Regions from separate parts of the Homo sapiens genome. Here all the other regions are linked to region 2. Evidence: promoter capture Hi-C in human tissues and cell types (Jung and others, 2019). All regions are on one chromosome and are shown on one strand. The core of a region is centred on a gene start or on the middle of the fragment in contact, and the rest is flanking DNA. Distances in the headings are between cores, read along the strand shown. Region 1 has its middle 290 kb from the start of KIF4B. Region 2 holds the start of HAVCR1 (hepatitis A virus cellular receptor 1). Region 3 has its middle 230 kb from the start of KIF4B.

Region 1 (3,249 bases), core at 514-3,013, 1.8 Mb before region 2:
ACGCCTGTAATCCCAGCACTTTGGGAGGCTGAGGCGGATGGATCACCTGAGGTCAGGAGTTTGAGACCAGCCTGGCCAACATGTTGAAACCCCATCTCTACTAAAAATACAAGAAATTAGCCGGGCGTGGTAGCAGGTGCCTGTAATCCCAGCTACTTGGGAGGCTGAGGAAGGAGAATCACTTGAACCTGGGAGGCGGAAGTTGTAGTGAGCCAGGATTGCACTACCTCACTCTAGCCTGAGCAACAAGAGTGAAACTCCATCTCAAAAAAAAAAAAAAAAAAAAAAAAAAAAATATATATATATATATATATATATATATATATATATATATATATATACACATGACAGAGAATTTTCCCCTGTGGTGAAATCTGAGGACCAGGACCTGGGCCCAAGGGGATATTCGATATAGCATAGTTTAGAGCTGCACTGTCCAATGTGGTGGTCACTAGCTACCTGTGACTGCTGAGCATTTTTTTTTAGGTGGGCTAGTCTGAATTGAGATGTGCGGAAAATGTAAAATACACACCAAGTTTCCAAAACTTAGTACAAAAAAAGTTTAAAAGAACCCTCATTTTTTATTGATTTAATTTCAGAATTAATTTTTACATATTGAAATAATATTTTTGATGGGTGAAATAAAATGTATTAAAATTAATATTTTTTAACTTTTAAGTTGAGGGGCACATGTGTAGGATGTGAAGGTTTGTTACATAGATAAGCGTGTGTCATTAGGGTTTGTTGTATGGATTATTTCATCACCCAGGTATTAAGCCTAATATCCATTAGTTATTTTTCCTGATCCTCTCCCTCCTCCCACCCTGTACACTTTGATAGGCCCCAGTGTGTGTTGTTCCCCTCTATGTGTCCGTGTGTTCTTATAATTAAAATTAATTTTAATAGTTAATATTTATTTATTTGTTGAGATAGAGTCTTGCTCTGTCACCAGGCTGGAGTGCAGTGGCATGATCTCGGCTCACTGCAAGCTCCGCCTCACGGATTCGAGTGATTCTTCTGCCTCAGACTCCCAAATAGCTGAGACTATAGGTGCGCGCCAGCACCCCCGGCTAATTTTTGTATTTTTAGTAGAGACGGGGTTTCACCATGTTGACCAGGATGGCCTCAATCTCTTGACCTCATGATCCACCCCCTCGGCCTCCCAAAGTGCTGGGACTATAGGCATGAGCCACAGCCCCTGGCCTTAATAGTTAATTTTTAATGTGGCTTTTAAAACTTCTTAGATGTGGCTACTAGAACATTTTTAATTACATGTGTAGATTTACTTTATATATCTACTGTACAGCACTGGTTTAGAGGTGAAGAGTGTGGGCTCTGGAGATAGTCTATCTAGATTTGAACCCTGGCTGCAAATCACTGGCTATGTGACTCCTGGCAAAGTGGCTTTCAGACCTTCCACAGAGACCTGCTGTAATCATTTCATTTTATAACATTTTACACTCACATACACATACAGATAAAATGGATGAAATAATACCCTTACCACATGTAATGCATTCTGATATGTTCTGTTTCATTTCATTCCCCTCCCACCTCCTATAGTCTTTCCTCTCTCATCTGTTTATTTAAAACAATGCTTGTCATGACCTCCTGAATTAAATTCAAAACACAGAAATGGGTCACAAACTCTGGTTTGAAATTCCATTCTTGACCTTTCTGTGTTAACTCTCATCTGTAAAATGGAACAAATACTTCCATGATCTCTTAAAGTCATTTTGAGACTATATGTAAGATAGTGTATGTAAAGCCCTTAGAACAATACCTGGTATATAATGAAGTGCTTGATGAATGAAAGAAAGTATTATTATTCTAAATGGGCCTTCAGTTTTCCCTAGGAACACTTATCAGTGTCTGTTACATAGGAAAACACACTAAATATTAGCTGCTTTTCTTACTAATGTTGTTTTAAATAGGCCTGCAAGTTTCATACTAATTTTTTTACCCCCAAAGAGAAGTCACTTGGTGTGAGCAAATGCAGCATTTCCATAGTGGGAAAAGAGACTTCCAGCCTCCTTGTATGTTGCTTTATAAGATCTCTTAAGTTGTTTTTCCCTGTGTGTGTTCTCTCTTCTCTATGTAGGCTGTAAATTCTCAGCAGACAAACTTTGTGCCATCTGTTGTCTTGGATCCCCCTCCGTCATACCCAGGACACAAAGGCAACATTTGTAGCACAGGCTTTGGAGCCACAAAATCTGGGGTTCACACCCTAGCTGTGCTACTCACTGTGTTCTTTGACTTTCGTCTTCCTCCAAAACGAAGGCCTTGTGGCCTCTGAATCCTCATCTGTGACACAGGAATCATGATACCCTCCTCTCAGCTCTGCCATGAAGATTAAATGGCAGCCGGGCATGATGGTTCATGCCTGTAATCCCAGCACTTTGGGAGGGCAAGGCGGGAGGATTACTTGAGGCCAGAGTTTGAGACCAGCCTGGGCAATAAAGTGAGACCTTGTCTCTACCAAAATAAATAAATAAATAAATAAATATAAATAAAAAATTAGCCAAGCTTGGTGGTGCACACTTGTGGTCCCAGCTACATGGGAAGCTGAGGCAGGAAGATTACTTGATGATCCCAGGAGGTTGAGGCCACAGTGAGCTATGATTGCACCACTGCACTCCAGCCTGGGCAATAGAGCCAAGACCCTGTCTCAAAAAGAAAAAAAAAAAAAGACATAAAAAATTAAATGGCATATTGTACGCACTGAGCCTTCTACAGAGCTGGTTGCAGGAAGTGGAGGTCATGGTTGTTGCTGCATGATTTTTATGGTATGAGCTTGGTAAGGGCTGAGTAGATCCCAAATTCCCTGGCGTCACTCCTGGTGTACAATCAAGGCACCTCAGATTCAAAGCACTTCATCCTGATGCTTTTGCACATTGGCCAACCCTCTTAGAACTCACCATGTACTACTTCTGGAATTATGAGAATATACACAAAGGTCATGTGCCTCGAACAGAGCTTCCTGGAGATGAAATTTTTGATTGCATCAGGCCCAACCGCTCATGTTTGCACTTGCTTAGGCAGAAAAGGAAGGTGGTTTGAAACCACCCTGGGCAGCTTCCTGTAGCCACTGAGCCCCTGAACTGGAGTGCAGTTGGTGTGACAGGGTTGCCCACAGAGTGAATGGGTCTGCCTCCAGGGTCCTGTTTACCAGCAAGGGAAACTCTGTGTTCTCCCCTGACATTGTCCTTCAGCTGTGGGCCGACAGCAGGCCCAGCAACTTATGTCAAC
Region 2 (3,023 bases), core at 441-2,940:
AGAAAGAAAGAAAGAAAGAAAGAAAGAAAGAAAGAAAGAGAATTGAATGTGGCTGAAAAAAATCGGAAGGCACAAAAAAATACAATAAGGATTAACTCTCCCTCCACCTCCCACCCTCTGCCCCCATCCCACATTACCCACTGTCACTATTTCCTATATACATGTGTCTATGCATATACATCTAACCACACCCTTTTTGTTTAAACACAAAGGGCAGCCTGTGACACACTGTGCTGCATCTTGCCTTGTTCATTTAGCCATGAATGTTGTAATTCACAGCAGTTAAGCAATTTCTTTGGCCTAAAACTTTATTCTGGTCCTGCTCACTAGTTAACTCATAGCCATACAACGGTACCCAAAGAACATCTACATTAATCCACCACCACCATCCCCTCCCCTTCCCCTACCCCATTCTCTGGCTTCTAACCCCCCTCTACTCCCTTCTTCCCGCCCAGGGCACCTACTCACTTACCTGCCAGATGTAGGATGAGGCTTAAGATGACCACTTGAGGATGCATTATGGGATCAGCCTGAAGGAAAATGAGCAGACAGGCTGGTTGGTACCCTCCACCAGATGGTATCTGATCAAGTCTTAAATCTCAGATTGCAACTTATCTTTTCACCCAGTTGGTTGATTCATATGAGCCTGCTCTGCTGGAAATGAGAGAAGACCACATATAACGGCTTCAGAGCTCTGTTAGTTCCCTGCAGCTGAGAGCTCTGTGCCTTCCAAAGGACAGGGAAAGCTGTCCACAGAAACAGCCCCTGACTTCCCAGCTTCTTCCCCACACATAACCGCCAAACTGACTCCTGGTCCTGATACAGGGTATCAGGGGAACAAACAAAAAGGAAACAGGGCCGGGCGCGGTGGCTCAAACCTGTAATCCTAGCACTTTGGGAGGCCAAGGCGGGCAGATCACGAAGTCAGGAGATCGAGACCATCCTGGCTAAAAGGGTGAAACCCCGTCTCTACTAAAAATACAAAAAATTAGCCGGGCGTGGTCACTGGCGCCTGTAGTCCCAGCTACTCGGGAGGCTGAGGCAGGAGAATGGCGTGAACCCGCGGGAGGCGGAGCTTGCGGTGAGCCGAGATCGCGCCACTGCACTCCAGCCTGGGCGACAGAGCAAGACTCCGTCTCAAAAAACAAAACAAAAAAAAAGAAAAGAAAAGGAAACTGGAAGCAGAGAACCAGCGTGGCTCAATGGCAGCACGAGAGCAAATGCCAGCCTTCCAGTGGCAGAGATGCACTTGCTTTTCAGAGTAAACTGGGCCTCTGGTGGACGTGGAGCTTTTCCTACTCAGTGGCCACAACGACTTATCCCTAGCCTTAACAGTCATATTGCCAAGTTTGCCATTAGCAAGAGAAATTGAGAGTGAATGTGAATCACTGTGCCTAACCTTTCATGCTCCTGTACAACATGCTTCAGACTACACCTCCTTACCAAGGGACTTCAAGAGAATGCTTCAGGAAACAGAAGTCTGGAGCAGACTTACGTTCAGATCCAGGCTCTGTCACTCACAATGCTGGGTAACCCTGAGAGTTCCTGAGTTCTCTTCAAACCTCTATTTCCTCAGTTGTAAAATAGCACTAAAAATGCTTCCTCTATCTCCCACCAAGGATTGATATAATAAGCAAAAAGGGCCACGGAAGAACTTGGAAAACTAAACCTACATCATATGCAGTAATAGCACTAGCTGAGGTTTTTGGAGAATACTATATAGCAGGCTCTGTGTCAAGCACCCACATGCGTTAAATCGGGCTGTTGACTTCTGCTGTTAATCATTAAACCATACAAACATGAGTAAGCTTGCCTAGTACTTCATTAACTCCTCTTCTGGTCTAAGAATTCAGTAACTTCCAAGGAGGCAGTGGTGGTCTGTATCTTGCAGCTCATGACAGGGTTCATGGGGAAGTGGATGATCTCAGCATAGTGTTTTGTATGGCAGCGTTTAAAAATTCATTTCTTGACCGGGCATGGTGGCTCGTGCCTGTAACCCCAGCACTTTGGGAGGCCGAGTAGGCCAGTCACCTGAGGTCGGGAGTTCAAGACCAGCCTGGCTAACACGGTGAAACCCCGACTCTACTAAAAATACAAAAATTAGCTGGGGGTGGTGGCGGGCGCCTGTAATCCCAGCTACTTAGGAGGCTGAGGTAGAAGAATTGCTTGAACCTGGAAGGTGGAGGTTGCAGTGAGCCGAGATCAAGCCATTGCACTCTAGCCTGGACAACAAGAACAAAACTCCATCTCAAAAATAAAAATAAAAATTCATTTCTTGCCAGGCACAGTGGCTCACGCCTGTAATCCCAACACTTTGGGAGGCCAAGGCAAGTGGATCACCTGAGGTAAGGAGTTTGAGACCAACCTGGGCAACATAGCAAGACTCCCTCTCTGCAAAAAAAACGAACAAAAAATATAGTCAGGCCTTGTGTACCTGACCGTAGTCCCAGCTACTCAGGAGGCTGAGGCAGGAGGGTTGCTTGAGCCCAGCAGTTGGAGGCTATGATTGTGCCACTGCACACCAGCCGGGGTGACAGAGCAAGACCCTGTTTCTTAAGGAAAAAAAGATTGAAAAAAAAAAGCTAATTCAATTCAACCAGTTATTACTAACATATTGAGCTGATGGGACATGACTCAATATACTAGGGACGTCAAAAATCCAGACTTGTGCAATCGGGCAGGGACATGGGTAAGTAAGCAACTAATGAAATCAGGATAAGTGAGGTAAAGGTAAATATATAATCAGACTACATCATTCCCCCACTTATAACCCTCTCATAACTCTCTCAGAAAAATAATAATAATAATAATAATAATAATTCCTAAATCTTTACTCAAATTACTGAAGCCCTGGTGGTCTGGCCCTGACCTACCCCATAGATTTCTTCTACCACTCTCTCCCCTGCTGACTCAGCCCCAGCTACTAGAGCTTTCTTTCCAACTTGCCTCAACCCTAAGGCCTTTTCCGTGGCTGTGTTCTCCATCTAGCTCCCCAGCCCCACCATTTTCACTTTTTTCCTTTT
Region 3 (3,134 bases), core at 334-2,833, 1.8 Mb before region 2:
CTTGTCCTGTCTCCCACTCTGTTTCCTCCTCTTTCTCCTTTTTACTCCAACCCCATCCAGCTCCTGTCCCTGTTCCTGTCTCTCTCCCCAACCCCTGTCCCTGCTCCTGTCTACACCCTCCTTCTTCTGCTACAGGAAGAGAACACTTATGTATATTTTTGCTTCATCTATGGTATGTAGCATAGAACCTGGCACACATTCCACTCATGCATTCATGCATTAGTATACTCCATAGATATTTGAGGAGCATCTATCTAGTACGTGCAGGCCTCAGTGGCTCTTGGTGTGGAAGACAGGTAGACAGCCTGCTTAGGACCTGGGTGAAATATATAGCGCTTAAAACATGTGGGTTAAGCAAATGAGTATCATGTCAATTTTTAGTTCTATGGAGCATTCTTGGTCTCCAGTATCACTTGGAATAGTACTGAGTACTTGACCCTATAGGAGAGTTGGAATCATGCCTACGAGCCAAAACTCTTCAAGTTTTCCACATGGGGATTTCTTCTTTGTCTCATGTTATTGTGTTAAAAGCACCTGTAAGTCTAAGCTCTGAGCTGGCACTGTTACCTACAGCAGTGAATTCAGTTCCAAGACTGGTAGAGAGGGGATGAAAGGGTGAGAAGAGACACAAAAACAAGATAAAGTGGAAGAGAGGACATAGAAGGGCTGGAAAAGAAAGAAGAGTACAGGGGACAAAGGAATGGGCTTTGAGGATGAGGACTTTTGGGGTTAGGGCATAGCTTGCCAGGCACTGGCTGTGTGACCCTGAGCAAGGTGACATTTTTCTCTCATCTGGAAAATGAGGTTAAAATCATTAGCAACTATGGGGACTAAATGAGATGGAGTCTGTCACATTCTTAGTGTGGTGCCCATGAAATAGATGCTCCATAAACAGTAGCTATTCTCATTATTACTGGATAAAGAGAAGAGGGACAGGAAATGAAGAGGAGAATAAAAAGGGAGAAAACTTCAGGGAAAAGGTAGGGGGAAATGAATGAGAGATTTCCATTATTGAGTAGGGTCACTGGGCCTGTTGGCTGTTAGCCAGCCAGTGCAGGGGGAGGGGACTTGACCTTCCCTAGCAGAGGGAGGCTGTTTCTTTGTGTACAAACCTCAGTAGTCATCCCAGGCCACCTGGAAACATCAGGGGCCCTTGCTGTCATAATTGTATCTGGAGATTTTAACAGAATTTTTAGTGTTTGGGAGAAGAGGCTTTTATGATACTGTATCTTTATTTAGATATTATTGAAAAGATTCATTCAGAAAATAATGCTTCACTAGATACTGAACTTGAGAGCAAGATCTTAGGGTAGTAGGTCCCAATGCATGGCCCAAAATGTGGATACCTTGGGCCCACGTCAGACCTACTGAATCAGAAGCTCTGGGGATGGGGGCTGACATGTCTGCATTTTTTTTTTTTTTTTACTATTTCATGGATTTATTTTATTTTATTTATTTCAGTAGTTTTTGGAGAATGGGTGGTTTTTGGTTATTTGGATAAGATTTTTTAGTAGGAATTACTGAGATTTTGGTCCACCTGTCACCTGAGCAGTGTACCCTGTACCCAATGCTAGTCTTTTATCCTTTGCACTCCTTTCCCCCCATGTCCCCAAAGTCCATTATATCATTCTTATGCCTTTGTGTCCTCATAGTTTAGCTCCCACTTATAAGTGAGAACATACAATATTTGGTTTTCCATTCCTGAATTACTTCATTTAGAATAATGGTTTCCAACTCCATCCAAGTTGCCGAGAATGCCATTATTTCATTCCTTTTTATGGCTGAGTAGTATTCCATGAGGTATATTTACCATATTTTCTTTATCCACTCATTGGCTGATGGGCACTTAGGCTGGTTCCACATTTTTGCAATTGTGAATTGTGCTGCTATAAACATGTGTGCAAGTGTCTTTTTCATATAATGACTTCTTTTCTTCTGGGTAGATACCCAGTAGTGGGATTGCTGGGTCAAATGGTAGTTCTACTTTTAGTTCTTTAAGAACTCTCTATACTGTTTTCCATAGTGGTTGTACTAGTTTACATTCCCACCAGCAGTGTAAAAGTGTTCTTTTCTCACCACATCCATATCAACATCTATTATTTTTTGATTTTTAAATTATTGCCATTCTTGCAGGAGTAAGGTGGTATCTCATTGTGATCTTAATTTGCATTTACCTGATAATTAATGATGTTAAGCATTTTTTCATATGTTTGCTGGCCACTTGTGTGTCTTCTTTTGGGAATTGTCTATTCATGTTCTTAGGTCACCTTCTGATGGGATTCTTTGTTTTTTTTCTTGCTGACTTGAGTTTTTGATATTAGTTCTTTGTTGGATGCATAGTTTGTGAATATTTTCTCCCACTCTGTGGGTTGTCCGTTTACTCTGCTGATTATTTCTTTTGCTGTGCAGAAGCTTTTTACTTTAATTAGGTCCCATCAATTTTTTTGTTGTAGTTGCATTTGCTTTTGAGTTCTTGGTCATGAACTCTTTGGCTAAGCCAATGTCTAGAAGAGTTTTACCAATGTTGTCTTCTGGAATTTTTATGGTTTCAGGTCTTAGATTTGGCTCTTTGATCTATCTTGAGTTGATTTTTATATAAGGTGAGAGATGAGGATCCGGTTTTACTCTTCTACACGTGGCTTGCCAGTTATCCCAGCATCATTTGTTGAATAGGGTGTCCTTTCCCCACTTTATGTTTTTGTTTGTTTTGTCGAAGATCAGTTGGCTGTAAGTATTTGGCTTTATTTCTGGGTTCTCTATTCTGTTCCATTGGTTTACATGCCTATTTTTATACCAGTACGGTGCTGTTTTGATAACTGTAGGCTTGTAGTATAGTTTGAAGTCAGGTAATGTGATGTCTCCAAATTTTTTCTTTTTGCTTAGTCTTTCTTCAGCTATGTGGGGTCTTTTTTGGTTCCATATGAATTTTAGGAATGATTTTTCTAGTTCTGTGAGGAATGATGATGGTACTTTGCTGGGAATTACATTGAATCTGCATATTACTTATGGAAGTATGGTCGTTTTCACAATATTGATTCTACCCATCTATGAGCATGGGATGTTTTCCCATTTGTTTGTGTCGTCAATGATTTCTTTTAGTAGTGTTTTGTAGTTTTCCTTGTAGAGATCTTTCA

What was found. Contacts are between HindIII fragments. The study calls those that stand out against the background at their distance.
Region 1: a fragment that was not itself captured here is called in contact with the fragment with the promoter of HAVCR1 in region 2 in 1 of the 25 tissues and cell types used here (dorsolateral prefrontal cortex).
Region 3: a contact is called between a fragment that was not itself captured here and the fragment with the promoter of HAVCR1 in region 2, in 1 of the 25 tissues and cell types used here (dorsolateral prefrontal cortex).

What each region holds. Positions count from the first base shown.
Region 1 is chr5:155,300,180-155,303,428 of GRCh38, forward strand. No RefSeq gene overlaps it. Among named protein-coding and RNA genes, the nearest start is that of KIF4B, 290 kb to the left of the region's middle. The HindIII fragment of the contact is 6,985 bases long and covers 1-3,249 here.
Region 2 is chr5:157,057,426-157,060,448 of GRCh38, forward strand. HAVCR1 (hepatitis A virus cellular receptor 1) reads right to left here and starts at 1,691. Exons shown (of 9, transcript NM_001173393.3): 1 at 1,496-1,691; 2 at 473-530. The coding sequence starts at 518. The HindIII fragment of the contact is 13,602 bases long and covers 1-3,023 here.
Region 3 is chr5:155,240,332-155,243,465 of GRCh38, forward strand. No RefSeq gene overlaps it. Among named protein-coding and RNA genes, the nearest start is that of KIF4B, 230 kb to the left of the region's middle. The HindIII fragment of the contact is 5,305 bases long and covers 1-3,134 here.